3 separate regions of the Homo sapiens genome follow, and regions 1 and 2 are each linked to region 3. Evidence: promoter capture Hi-C in 16 types of primary human blood cells and fetal thymus (Javierre and others, 2016). All regions are on one chromosome and are shown on one strand. Each heading gives the region's core, a stretch centred on a gene start or on the middle of the fragment in contact. The rest is flanking DNA. Distances are from core to core; before and after follow the strand shown. Region 1 has its middle 20 kb from the start of EPCART. Region 2 holds the start of EPCART (ERG-positive prostate cancer associated androgen responsive transcript). Region 3 holds the start of NEUROD1 (neuronal differentiation 1).

What was found. The method cuts DNA at HindIII sites, captures the fragments that hold promoters and counts their contacts. A CHiCAGO score of 5 or more calls a contact.
Region 1: a contact is called between a fragment that was not itself captured here and the fragment with the promoter of NEUROD1 in region 3, in 2 of 17 cell types (endothelial precursors and naive CD8 T cells). The highest score is 7.5, in endothelial precursors.
Region 2: a fragment that was not itself captured here is called in contact with the fragment with the promoter of NEUROD1 in region 3 in 1 of 17 cell types (total CD4 T cells); the score reaches 6.8 in total CD4 T cells.

What each region holds. Positions count from the first base shown.
Region 1 is chr2:180,103,325-180,107,737 of GRCh38, forward strand. No RefSeq gene overlaps it. Among named protein-coding and RNA genes, the nearest start is that of EPCART, 20 kb to the right of the region's middle. The HindIII fragment of the contact is 1,324 bases long and covers 1,569-2,892 here.
Region 2 is chr2:180,122,197-180,126,967 of GRCh38, forward strand. It overlaps EPCART (ERG-positive prostate cancer associated androgen responsive transcript), which reads right to left and starts at 2,998. Exons shown (of 4, transcript XR_923634.3): 1 at 2,484-2,998; 2 at 1,137-1,232. The HindIII fragment of the contact is 4,841 bases long and covers 10-4,771 here.
Region 3 is chr2:181,678,653-181,682,992 of GRCh38, forward strand. NEUROD1 (neuronal differentiation 1) reads right to left here and starts at 1,865. Exons shown (of 2, transcript NM_002500.5): 1 at 1,778-1,865; 2 at 1-219. The coding sequence starts at 208. RefSeq lists an enhancer at 2,515-3,091. The HindIII fragment of the contact is 9,386 bases long and covers 1-4,340 here.

The DNA.
Region 1 (4,413 bases), core at 981-3,480, 1.6 Mb before region 3:
CTTTGGTTCCATTTTGAGACATCTCATTATGTATAGGCAAATATTTTAAAATCTGAAAAAAGATCCAAAATCTGGAAAAAAGATCCAAAATCTGAAGCACTTCTGGTCCCAAGTATTTTGAATAAGAAACAACCTGTATGTCAGGTCAAGTTTGTCAGGTCTCTACTGCCCTTTTTTTTGAGACAGAATTTCACTCTTGTTGCCCAAGCTGGAGTGTAATGGCATGATCATGGCTCACTGCAACCTCCGCCTCCTGGGTTCAAGCAATTCTCCTGCCTCAGCCTCCCAAGTAGCTGGGATTACGGGCGTGCACCATTACGCCAGGCTAATTTTTTGTATTTTTAGTAGAAATGGGGTTTCACCATGTTAGCCAGGCTGGTCTCAAACTCCTGACCTCAGGTGATCTGCCCTCCTCAGCCTCCCAAAGTGCTGAGATTACAGGCATGAGCCACCGCCCCTAGCCACACGTTTGTTTTATATATTTAAAACTGCATTATTTAGTGCATATAAATTTAGAACTACAATTATTCCTAGTCAATTGATTACTTAGTATCATAAAATACAAAATATTGCTTTCTCTATCTAGGAATACTTCTTGTCTTCAAGTATGTTTTGTATTAAATAGCTACAGTAACTTTTTGTTGGTTCATGTTTGCATATTTTCATCCTTCAACCTCTCTGTGCACGTATATTTAAAGTGTTTCTTGTAATTAGCATTATAGTTTCTTTTAAATCCAGTCTGATAATATTTTAATTGGACTAATGAGTCAATTTGTGCTTTATGTGATTACTGATTTGAGTTTTGTATCTACCATCTTATCATTTATCTTATAATTCCCACTTGTTTTTAATTTTTTCTTTTTTCAACCTTCATTTGGATCAATCAAAATCTTAAAATTTATTTTCTTTTTTTTCCAACTACCTTTTTATTTTCATCTTCTTACTTTTTGAAACAGAGTTTTGCTATTGTCACCCCGGCTGGAGTACAGTGGTGCAATCTTGGCTCACTGCAGCCTCTGCCTCCTTGGGTTCAAGTGATTCTCCTGCCTCAGCCTCCCAAGTAGCTGGGATTACAGGTGCCCGTCATCACACCCGGCTGATTTTTGTATTTTTTGTAGAGATGGGGTTTCACCATGTTGGCCAGGCTGGTGTCGAACTCCTGACCTCAAGTCATCCGCCTGCCTTGGCCTCTCAAAATGCTGGGATTACAGGTGAGAGCCACCACGCCCAGCCGTCGACTAGCTTTATAGTTATACATCCTTAAAAATAATTCTTTCAGTGGTAACCCCTGTGATTTTAAACACACATTCATTACTTAATAGAGTCAAATATGAATTTGTATTTTTTTCTACTTCCTAGACATGTAAAATACTTAGAACACTACATTTACTCCCCCAACTTTTGCCATTTATGTTATTTTGGCCAGCCATTGAAATTCTACACATATGCAAACCTTTATAAGACATTATTATTGTTATTGATTAACATTGACATTTATTTAGATTTTTCCTTATACTTAACATTTCTACTGTTTTACATTTCTTTCTTTCTACAGTAATATTGCCAAAAGCTTTGGTGTCTTCTCCACTTCTTATCAGGGTTTTTTCTCTGCTAGGAATTCTGGTCTCTACTCTTGCAAGCTCTAATTTTGAATTGACAAATAAAAGGAAAAATGAACTAACAGAATGTTGGCTTACCCGTCTGTGGTTCCTTTCTGTTCATGACCTTGCCCCCTCAATCATTGTCACAGTAGTGCTCTAATTTTTATTTGTATTTTATTTTTTGTATTTTATCTATTGTTATCAGAAGGGAGACTTCTGGAAATTATTTTTACATAGAGGGAAGAAATATTCTCATATACTTTTAAAAAATAGTCTCCAAATTGACAGAAATGATAAATGAAGCACATAAATAATTCTGATTTAGAATATAGTCCAGGCATGATTCACTCAGTCATGTCTCAGTATAACATTTAAAGGTATACTAGAGGCTTAATCTTGCCAGGTAATATTCCATGGTAGGTAAGTTTTCAAGAATAAGAAAACAAGATCTCCTGAGTTTATATTCTTTTGGAGAGGGATTTGGCTGGAGGAAGACATAGATAATATATAGTATATTATATATTAATGGGATAATTAAGAGAATAAAAAATACTACAAAAAATAAAGCAGGGAGATTTTATATAGAGAGACTGGGAGGCAGTGGAATCAGGCTATCGTAGACTTAGTACTCTGCATGGTTAAAGACATTTCTGTAGAGGTCATATTTTGAGAACTAAACGAGAAATAACTGGACTTATATAGACTTAGTGACAGAAGATTCCTGGGAGAAGAAATAGCAAGTGAGAAGATCCTAAGAGGTAAATGGTTTAGGCATGTTCATACAGAAATCTTGAGTGGCTTAAACATAGAGGATGAAGGGACAAATGATGTGAGATGCGATCAGAAATATACCCAAGGCTCAGATTAGTGGGTTGAGTTTTACTCAAATGCAATAGAAATCCACTAGAGAGTTTAAAATAAAGAGATGATATGAATTATGTTTTAAAAGATCATTCTGGCTCTGGTGTTGAGAATGATTTACAGGGCACTGGAGAGGAAGTAGGAAGGCCAGGTAAGGGTAGATCAGGTTAAGCATGGTAGATTGGACACATGTTTACCTTGGTTCTCTCCTGTAATTCTACTAAAATGATAGAGAAGGGATTAAAAGGGGATGAACTCAGAAAGAAAAAAAGAACTAGGAATGGGAGGTAATAATAACTACATTATATGCATTGAGCAGGAAAATGGAGGTTTATTATCTAGAGAGCTTTGGGACATCTGACTCAGTTCAGGAAGATGGGTGTCATCTTGAACAGTGAGATTAAATCAAAGTGTTCATATTGAACATAAAAGCTTCCAGCTCCCTCCCTTCCTCCACGTAGCTAAGATTGCTTCTTAGGCTTATGTTCCTCAGGCAGGAGATTGGAGCATTCATTTCTGAGGCTATTTAACAGCTTAAGATTGTTAATGAGAAGCACCACTTAACATCTCCTTATGCTATTTTATCAATTGAAAGAATTTACTGGGTGACCTGAGAACATTTAAACCACACAGAGGTTTTGGTAATGGTCATGGCCGCTATCTCCTTACTTTGATCCTTGCTTAAGGGTGAGTTTTAATGAGCTTCCCTTGCTTTAAAACTTTCTTAATTTTAAATTTGAAAATTAGTTCTCTCTTCTAACCTAATATGTTCTCCAATTTCTGGGCTAATTTTCTTTCATTCTTTTCATTCCTACTTGAAGGCTGAACAGTTTTTTTTTTCTGATCTCATGTATTTCTTGTAATATGCCATCAAGCATTACCCACAGAGACCTATCACAGAATTTAGTTCTACTTTTCCTTCCTCTACATTTGGAAATATGAGATCATTAAATAACATAATCCTTCTCCAGGTTCATAGTTGTACCAAATATTTTGCCACTAAAAAGCACGAATCACCATCTTTCCTGCCTTCAATATTAGTTTCTTCACTCCCTGCTATCTCGACACTGAGCCAATGTTACATATTTGATATTTATTGTTATGGCAGTGCCCCACTGTGGTCCCAGTGATTGAATTGGTCAAGATAGCATAACTTAGGCTAGCATAACAAACAACCCCCAAATCTGCCTAAATACAACTAAATTTTTTTTTGCTTGCTCGAGCAATATCTATGCAGGCCCAGGTGTCTCTCCAGCTGACTCTCTAGCTGTTCTCTATGTATTGGTTCAGTATTCCAAGCTGCTTTGATTTTCATATCAATACATCACTATGCATCACTATGATACGAAAAAACTGGAGATTTAACCACTTCATTTAAATACTTCCATCTAGAAATGACAAGATTAGTTTTTTTCTAATGATTTGCCTGAAATAAGACTTATGGCCATGCTAACTTCAAGGTGTAGGAAAGTGTAGTCTGCCCTTGTGTGCACAAGAGGAGGAGAACCAGATATTAATGTTAGTAATATGTACTACAGAAGATATCGCATCTCCTAAACAAGAAAAGGATACATCCTCCTTCACCCCCCTTTTCAGAGACAGCGTCTCAGTACATTTCTCAGGCTAGTTGGTCTCCATCTCCCATAACTGCTAGGCTCAAGCGATCCTCCTGCCTCAGCCTCCCTAGTAGCTAGGACCACAGGCACAGGCCATTGCATCTGGCTAGAGATGGTTTTCTTCAAACAAGACATAAGATAAACTTTGAGAATAAAAAAATTCTTGAGAAAAATTGCTAACAGACATGTTAAAAGGTCTTTAGAAGTGTCAGAAAAATTGAGAAATGTCCAGAAAATAGAGCAAAAGTAAAAACAGACAGGACTTTGAGAATTTTTATGTTCAGAAAGACTGTCAATGGAGTGTGAAGATTTAAAAAAATTTTCTAAACACAAAG
Region 2 (4,771 bases), core at 1,180-3,679, 1.6 Mb before region 3:
TCACTCCAAAGCTTAGATAAAGATTCAAGGAAATTGGTGATCTGGGTACAAGAGAGAAGAGTTTTGAGTATGAATTGGCCAATCCAGTTTTTCCACTCTCAAAGACTGGAGTGCCATACTAGGCCTGTTGAGTCTCAATCCCTTCCTCAAACTTCTGCCCTGCCATGTATCACAGGGGAGCTGAACTCTTCAGGTGTATTTTAGGTTGTATTTGGGTGAAATTACACAACTTAAATTATTTCACCTAAATACAACCTAAAATACACCTGAAGAGTTTGCCCCGCCCCGCCCCCCACGTGATATGTGGCAGGGTGTATTTTAGGTATATTTTAGTATTTCAGGTTGTCCAAGTCAGTTGGCTTCCTGTTGCTCTGGGCCAAGTGTGGAGACATTATTGGGACAGCAGAGCACACAAAAGGAAGGGTATTTCTACCACTCTCACTATGCCTCAGATGATGGTAACTCCATCCTCTCTGCAGCCCCAGTTCCCATCCCCACCACTCAGGCCTACCTGTGGCCTAGCTTCCACCAAGTAGCCCTGGGCCCTGGACCCTGGACCTGTGGGTCCCTCCAGGTGAAGGTGGCAGTGGCTTTCTGCTGCCATCAATCCAAGGTTTCTTTTTTCTCTCTTGGATCATGATTAATACAACTAGGCAGATTTGGGCTAGCAGAAGGGAAGCTATAGAGGGACAATTGGGAGGAGAAAGGAGCCCAAAGTCCTCCACATGAAGTGCTTATGGGGTGAGAAGCCTCATACTCCTCCCTTATGAGATTGTGGGTGGCACTAAAAGAAGGGAATCAGTATCTTATTTCCCAACTGGCTATTTCCTTAATCAGACGCTGAGTCAGGGAGAAGCAGCCTGTGGAGAGAAACAAAGAAGGTGGTTGCCATGGAACAGAGAAGATTCTGGCTTTGGAGTGACAAGAATGTACAAATCTCCCAAAGGCTGCGTGGATATGGGGAAAAGTAGCTGAACCTGAGTCATCTTAGCAGTACTTCCACCTGAGTCCTATTTACAGGCTGTAGATACTCCAGTGGGAAGAGGTTAATGGGGGAAGCTGTAAAGGGGTAGGAAAGACTGGCTAGAGTTGGATTTACCATGTCAGGGAGACTCTTCAGGGCCTTCTGAACTTACCCAATATCCCCTGAGGTAAGCAGTATTTCGGCACAGAGAGGACATCTATTGGTAGCTGGTGTTTTCTAGATGAGCAGCAATACCCAACAGAAAATTCTGCAACAAAAAGAATTGGGTGAAGAGACTATTTTGTTTCTTCTCCTCTGATCCCACCTCAAGTCATTAAAGAAGCTAGATCTTGATGTGGAGAAAGAAGAGGTTTTGTGCAACCAGATTGGCTTCATGGTTTTGGAGTCGGGAGGAGGGGCAGGCCAGACCCCTTTGGGGCGCCTGTTTTACAAGCTGAGCTAGGTAAAATTACATGATTTATATGAACTATGACAATGATCAATTATCAATGGAATCTGCCTGAGATATCATTCAGGGGCAAGAAAGCAGAAGTTGACCAATCATATGATTAGAAAAAGAAAATTGCTTCTGATTAATATCCATTGAGTTCAAACCATTTAGTGAAACAGTTACCCTTAAACTATCAGCTCATCTAGAACAGAGTTTTGCAAACAACATTTTGTGGGCCAGTAAAACAGATTTTTAACACCTTGCATTTTTACCTCTCTGATCCCTTCTCAGAACCACCAGCAGATTTGACAACTGTTTTCCTCCTTACTCTGTCTCTTCCTTGACTATACAGTAGAAAATAGAGAATTCAATTTATTCAACTCTTTGTAATGTATGTGGTTATTTGAATCCTGTTGTATTCATACAGAACATGAGCTTTGTTCCTATATTTTCATATAATTGTTAATAAGTTATAAGAAGGTTTGAGGCTGTGGCATATAAACACAGCACATAAACATATATTTCTATATAACATAATCTTCCCACTTTTACTACATATTTTTACTAGACTGTTCTGGAAAAGCTATTTGTACATATTTCTTTGTGCACACAAGTTCCTCAGCTAACGGCTTTGCTCTGTTTTTATAGAACATGTTGTATATGGTTAAAAAATGTCTTTCACATAAGCCACATTTTTCCTGTTTTTGTTTACTTGTCTGTATTGCACCTCAATTAGCAAATCGTGCAGTCTTCTCTCCCTGTCATAATAACATAAACTATCTCCATTTTAGGCTGTTCGATGTAAAACAAAAATCCCCAAATTTCCACTAGATGGTGCTATGAGAATGCAAACTTCTTTGGTCAGGGTATATATAAAATCCTCAGTTATTGCAGCCTGTTATTTTGGCTTGTGAAACAGGTCTGCCCCCCACTAAATTAGATGCACAGGGATGATTTAATATTTAGTTAAGAGACGATGCAATATTTCCCACAAGTCTCTGAGGAGCCCAGGCAAAACAATGAAGAGGCATTTTTCGTCTAATCCTCATCCATACCACTTCTTCTTACCTGGCCTTTTTGGTATGCTACTCCATAGATACCTAGGAACAACCCCATAGTGGCAACATCTTTTGACCCCGGTCACTGCCACCGTCTATGGCTTCTTTACCCAGTCTTCCCTCCTTGGCTGGAGGGGGCTAATGGATTTATTACATTACTGACTGTCAGCAATTATTTTTTGACAATTTGTTCAGTGGTTTTCAAAGTGTGATTTCCCAGACCAGCAGTGTCATCTGGGAGGTTGTTACAATTGCAAATTCTCAGACTTCAGCTCGGACCTACTGAATTGGATGGGAGTGGAGACCAGCAATCTGCATTTTCACAAACCTCCCCGAGGTGATTCTAATGTGTAGGAAAGTTGAGAACCAGTGTGTTAAATACTTCCTGGGAACAAAACTGCCTTATCCTATTTGGATTAACCTCATTCCTGAAAGCCCTCAAAGAACAACTTTAAAGGTGGATAGGTGGGTGAAGAAATTTTTAAAGGTGTTGCCAGGTACAGTGGCTCACCCCTTTAATCCCAGCACTTTGGGAGGCTGAGTCAGGTGGATCACTTGAGCCCAGGAGTTCAAGACCAGCCTGGGCAGCATGCTGAAACCCTGTCTGTACAAAAACAAACAAACAAAAAATTAGCTGGGCGTGGTGGTGCACGGCTGTCCCAAGCTACTCAGAAGGCTGAGGTAGGAGAATCCGTTGGGCCCGGGAGGTTGAGGCTGCAGTGAGCCAAGATGGCGCCACTGCATTCCACCCTAGGCAACAGAGTGAGACCCTGTCTCAAAAAGGAAAAAAAAGTTTAAGGCGAGCATTTGTTCTACTTGGCCTACTCTGCTTTCCCTTTGGGTTGCTCTGCTCCCCTTGGGCTGCTTTGCTCTCCCTTTGGGTTCTGCCTGTCACTGAGGAGTCCTCACTGCAAAGGAATAGTGAAGCCTGTATCTAATGTGTAAATGTAGGAGAGTATGATTAGTAACTCACTTTTTTTTTTTTTTTTTTTTTAAAGAGATGCCCAGGAAGGCAGCCAGATGGCAGCATCGTTCCTACACTGTCTCTGCACTCCCAAAGGCAGTTTCTGGCCCTTTACTGTAGTCAAAGGAGATCGCGTAGCAGCGGTCGTTTATTGGCTAGGCTGTTTGTCTTTTTTCTCTACTGCAGCATGAGTCAGAACCCACAGAGAGAACCAGAGAGGAACAACCCGTTGATTAATGGGTCAGAGAGCTATGTAAGACTGTGATCTCCTATTGTCCCTGTTTCACGGAACAAATGTGGGGGATGCTACAAAGATTCAACACTAGGTAGACATCTAATGAAGCTGGGTTGCCATCAATCAGTTCAAACAGGTGTCTGGAATAGCTGTGTCTTCTGTCTTTTGATAAACACTGAGTACCTGCACATACAATTCCCTGGGAGCTTTTAAATCTCCTGATGCCCAGGCTGCACCCTAGACCAACCACATCAGAATCAGGAGAATGGTTTTAGGGCATCAGTACAGCTTTAAATCTTCCCAGGGGATACTAATGAGCATGAAGGGCTGGGAACCATGATATTAAAGACGTTGAGATGAAATTTGTGGCAAAGTTATTTCAATTGAGAAACCTGGGTTATTGTCTTATACCGTACTGTCAATTTCAACAGTGGAGTTTGTTGTTTTGGCCAGTTTTGATCTTGGCAAGTTTCGATATTCGAAATGGATTTTGTTGTATGACAGAAGGGGGCATCATCTCCTCTCCACCCCACACCACCTCCTTCTCTCTTTCCCCCTCCTCCTTCTCACTTGTTGTTCTGTTTTGTGTTTTGTTTTGTTTTGGAGGGGTGAAGACTGAAAATTTAAAACTGTGGCTACAAAATGGGCATATTACTGCTACTTAAAAGAAAAATTCTGACCAAAAATATATAGTCAATATTCTGAGTTTAAAATATTCTAAACTGTAAAAACCTTCTGTTTTTGCCTTCTGCCACATGTTCTTAGGTACCCTCAGGCTACAGTCCTTATTTTAAAGGATATGATAGTAAGAAAGTTACATCAGCCTTGATGAAAAGCTGTGAATTTAATCTTAGGAGCTCACACTGACTAGAGAGAATGAAAACATTCTATCATAATTGCTTGAAAAACTGTAGAACTACTCACTAGAGTTGGATATTGGTCTATAACCAAAACTCCTTTTGTATGGAACAAAGTGAGTTTCATGAAACTCTTTGTAAAAGATTTTCTTTATCCTGGAAAATCCTATATGTTTCCATGTAAAATTCTTAATAATAGGTAGAATGAAAGCTGGAGGGAAATATAATTGTGACATGTGAAG
Region 3 (4,340 bases), core at 615-3,114:
CCTCCTCTTCCAGGTCCTCATCTTCGTCCTCCTCCTCTCCCCCGTTCCTCAGTGAGTCCTCCTCTGCGTTCATGGTTTCGAGGTCGTCCTCCTTCTTGTCTGCCTCGTGCTCCTCGTCCTGAGAACTGAGACACTCGTCTGTCCAGCTTGGAGGACCTTGGGGCTGAGGCTCGCCCATCAGCCCACTCTCGCTGTACGATTTGGTCATGTTTCGATTTCCTACATTCAACAAGGGAGAGGCAAACAGAAAGAAAAGCAGAAAAACGCTATATTCAAAAGCCAGATACGCCTTCAGCTTCCACTCCCTAAACCTGTACAAATGCTTGCGAAAAGTACCTGCCCATTACAAAATGAATGCCTCTGAGAAAAAGTTAAATGCAGTGTTTTATAATGGCGCGTGCGTGTGCCCCGCTAGTACGTAGGAGTGAGGACAGGACTGGGGGAGGGTAGTGAATATGTATATGTGTACACCACTCACGCATATGTGTTTGTATCCTAGTGATTAACTTAAATGTGTTTATGGTGGTTGCCCGACAGGATAATGTGTGTGGAAATGACTGTACATTTCAGCGACTTCATGTTTATCCAAATGTGTTCAAAGTTACTCACAACTCCATAAAAAAAAAAAAAAGCTGTAAAATCACACATTCTACTTCCATTTCTGTCCTGGCTTCCAGATACTTAGCGATTTAAGTTGAACAGCCATTGCGTAATTTACTAATACTGGCAGCGATTTTTAAGAAGATTACATCGACGGGATACTGAAAAGCAAATGCAGAAAGGAGGAAAAATAGTTTCCACCAAATTGTTTCACCATCAATGTAACATTTGGCAACAAAAGTGGACAGGGTCTTCCACCCCTCCCTCGCCTTTCTTTTCTTGCCTTCCATCTCTGGCCCACCGCTAAATTTCCACCTTGTACAAAAGCGCTAGCTGCAGGGCGAGGGCTGGGGGCGCGGCGCAGAGCGCTCTCCCACGCGCCGGGGATCAGGTGCGGAAGGCTCCTCTCTAATAAACAGCCCATTGAAAGGGCCGCCCGCTCTTTATTGGGGCTTTTCAAAGTTCGCCTCAAACCTCCCTTTAAAAGATTGAGTAATTATAATGGTCAGCGATTGGCAACCGCGAAGTTGCCGCTTCTAGTAAGGAAAATAAAAAGCCTTTAGTAAAACAACTGAATTTCTGGCTCCAGTAGTGGCTGCTGGGGACTTGGCCGCCTCTGGAGCGGTAACAGGTAGCAGGAGTGAGTCCCTCTCCCTTTCTCCACTTTCCCCCCTCTCAACTAAACTATCTCTGAACCTGATTTATTTTCCATGGTGTGAATACTCAAGGTATCCATGTCCCTTTCATTCACTGAAAACACAGCTTGACACTCCCAATGTGCGTAAAATACATGCACACAAAATATATATTGATAACATAGATTTTTTTTTCTTACTGTAAGAAGTGAGAAAGTGAAGTCATTATTGCTTTTGGGACTTTAAAATCAGCACTAGCAGATAATCATAGTTACCGTGCATTCTTTTAAAAAATCCAAGAAGCTCCTATGCTATCCACAAAAGAAACCCAAATTTTTAAAATTTAAATTAGAAAGCCTGCAGGGGGTACTTGAGTGACACGACTCATTATGTGTGAGTACTTATGGGCAATTATGGAGGGGGATGCTGGTCTCAATACACATACACACTCTCGCAAACGCACACATACAGAATATGTAGGTTCATCAGTCTTCAGTTATTGCTTCTATTCTGGGGCAAAAAAATGAAAGAACTGTAATTACCTTTGTTGTTAGTAGGTCCTGAGCAGTGATAGTCTCATAACCCTGGGGCCTCCGGACGCCGCGCCTCCTGCGTGGGCGAATTCCTCGTGTCGTGGCCGCGCGGGCGCTCAGGTTATATAGCCCAGTTAGTGATGCTAAGCGCGGGCGGGGCCGCTAGCTGAGGGGCTAGCAGGTCTATGCGCCTGACGCCTGCGCACGCGTCCAGGCTGTGCGCTCCCCGTTCTCCCCTCCTCCCCACTTCTCCCCACGCCTTGCTCGTCTCCCGCCCTCCTCCGACAACCGCTCCCCTCACCCTCCACCCCTACCCCCGCCCCTCCTCCTTCCTCCCCGGCATGCGCCATATGGTCTTCCCGGTCCAGCCAAGAGCCTGGAACCACGTGACCTGCCCATTTGTATGCCGCGGAGCGCTCCATTCCGGCCCCTTTGTGGCCAGAAGAAAGTGGCCCATCTGTCGCCAGTTAGAGACTCCGCGGACCTGTTTTTACCCGCAGGAGAGATTAACCCTTTCAGGCGGCAGAAGGGACGGGGATAGAGGGGGGAGGGGATTTGAGGGAAGGAAGGGAAAAGCTAATGTTAACTAGGTCTAGATCAGAGCGAGTGGCCTGCTTTCGCGCCGGAAGTAGGACAGAGGTGAAAGAGGCAGAAGCGGGGAGACTGAGGCACGCAGTGAAGAGTCCTCGCTCCTTTCGATTTCTTGTCCTGACACTGGCATCCAGAGCAGCATGACTCCTTGCCCTCTCTGAAAGGCCCATCCCTTGGCTTCTTCTCCTTGGCAGACGCTTTGATCATTGGCGCCAAAGGATGGCTTCTCCTAATCTCCGTCGGCCCCTCTAAGCAAACATATACGCCATATAAAAGCGGCTTCATCTGTAAACGCAGCGTTGAGATTAGTTCCCCAACCTCCCTAACCGGATCGTCCTCTCCCAGTTCCTTCAGTACAGAAAAGTTGTACCTGCCATTCTATCCCTACCATACGTGCAATTCTTCATGTCCTGACCTTCAGCTACGACTGTTCCTCCAGACCCTCTCACTACGTCAGTCCCCACCTCCATCCCCAGGATCTTGTCCTCAAAGCGAGCTAGTTCTCGCGAGGAGGCCTTGGTTCCATTGGCCTTTGCGCTCTCTTATGTGGGAGCTGGGGACTTCTTTGACGGTTGTATTCTGCCTTTTAACCATGGCCACTGGGTTGCTGGAAAGGGCACCCTCACTCAGCCAGTCCAGGGACGCTTCTGGTTCCCTGGCCAGCCCGCCCTGGACGGCCTCGGCTCTCTAGTCCAGGCATTGACCACAAGTACGGTGGTGGACACCTCGCCACAGCCGGACCTGCGCTCTTGCTCCCCTCAGTCTCGGGTCTGTATAAGATACTTGATTCAGACAAGCGTTTTCAAAGAGAAGATGCAATGGGCCTGTGCTGAACGGGTCTTTCCGATCTCTTTCTAGAAACGCCTTTAGCACAACCCCGGAAGGATTAATGGCTGCGAACTCCTCCAGACTTCAAAGCCTCTGATTTGAAACTCCCAACTTGAAGGTCAAGCAAAGACCACAGAAATTCTCGACCAGTTCTGAAGGAGCCATATTGTTGCCCAAATAGCAATTCTTTACTCTTTTCGAACAAGGGTTTTCCAGAATAATAGATTTTAAAAAGAAAGAAAGAAACTGGCCTGTCTACTCGTTCTTTCCCAGCTTTGCCTCTAATCCTTCATTAACTAACTCCTTACCCCCTCCCAGACCTGAAACCCTCTGCAATAAATACCTCTTACGTGAATTGCTTATTTAAAGGCAATTGCACTAAACATCCCTCGAGTTTGCAAACAGCGACAGGGTTGAGAGGCTGGATTGGGGTGCATCTGGGAGAGGGTGGGGACGGGAGGAGAGAGTAGGGGTAGAGGAAGAGGGTCCTAGCCAGATCCCCGGTGTCTGAAGGTAGCAGGTGCAGCCTTCCCTGCACAGTACTAATCTAAAAGGGGAAGAAAAGAGTTGTGCCACCGAAGCGTGGCGTGAATCGTTGTGGGGTTCTGGAGTTTTGCTTGCTTTTCTACATTCACTTGGCTGACAAAGCGCATAGGGGAGGATAAAATAATTCACCCAGGAGCCTGGGCCCAGGATTTACCCCTGTACTGTCTGTATCTTCAGTGTTGGGCTAAAACTCGAGGGCGTCGGAGTACTAGCCCTTAGAAGATAGTACACAGCCCGACGTTTGCGGCAGGGCCAGGTTAAGTACTGCCCCTCACCCGGCAGCTGCCCCGACTGGCAGCACACTATGCCGCAGGCATATGCAACTCGTGCCTAGGCTCTCATTTTTCCAACTTTGGGGAGTTCCGGAGGAGAACTGGGGACGGAGTGGGAGAAAGGACTCCAGCTAGCTTCGAGGTCAGGGGTAGCCTAGAGGTCCCTCTGCTAAATCCTTGTCCTCACCCCCAGAAAGCAGAAACCTCCAGTTCGCGACATCCTGTGCAATACAGGAGAATTATGGTGGAGTCAGATGTTCTTGAGCAAGAGGGACGCCCGAGTGTTTTGCCAGACGGAGACTCAAATGCGTAAAGTGCGGGAATTACTAGTCTGT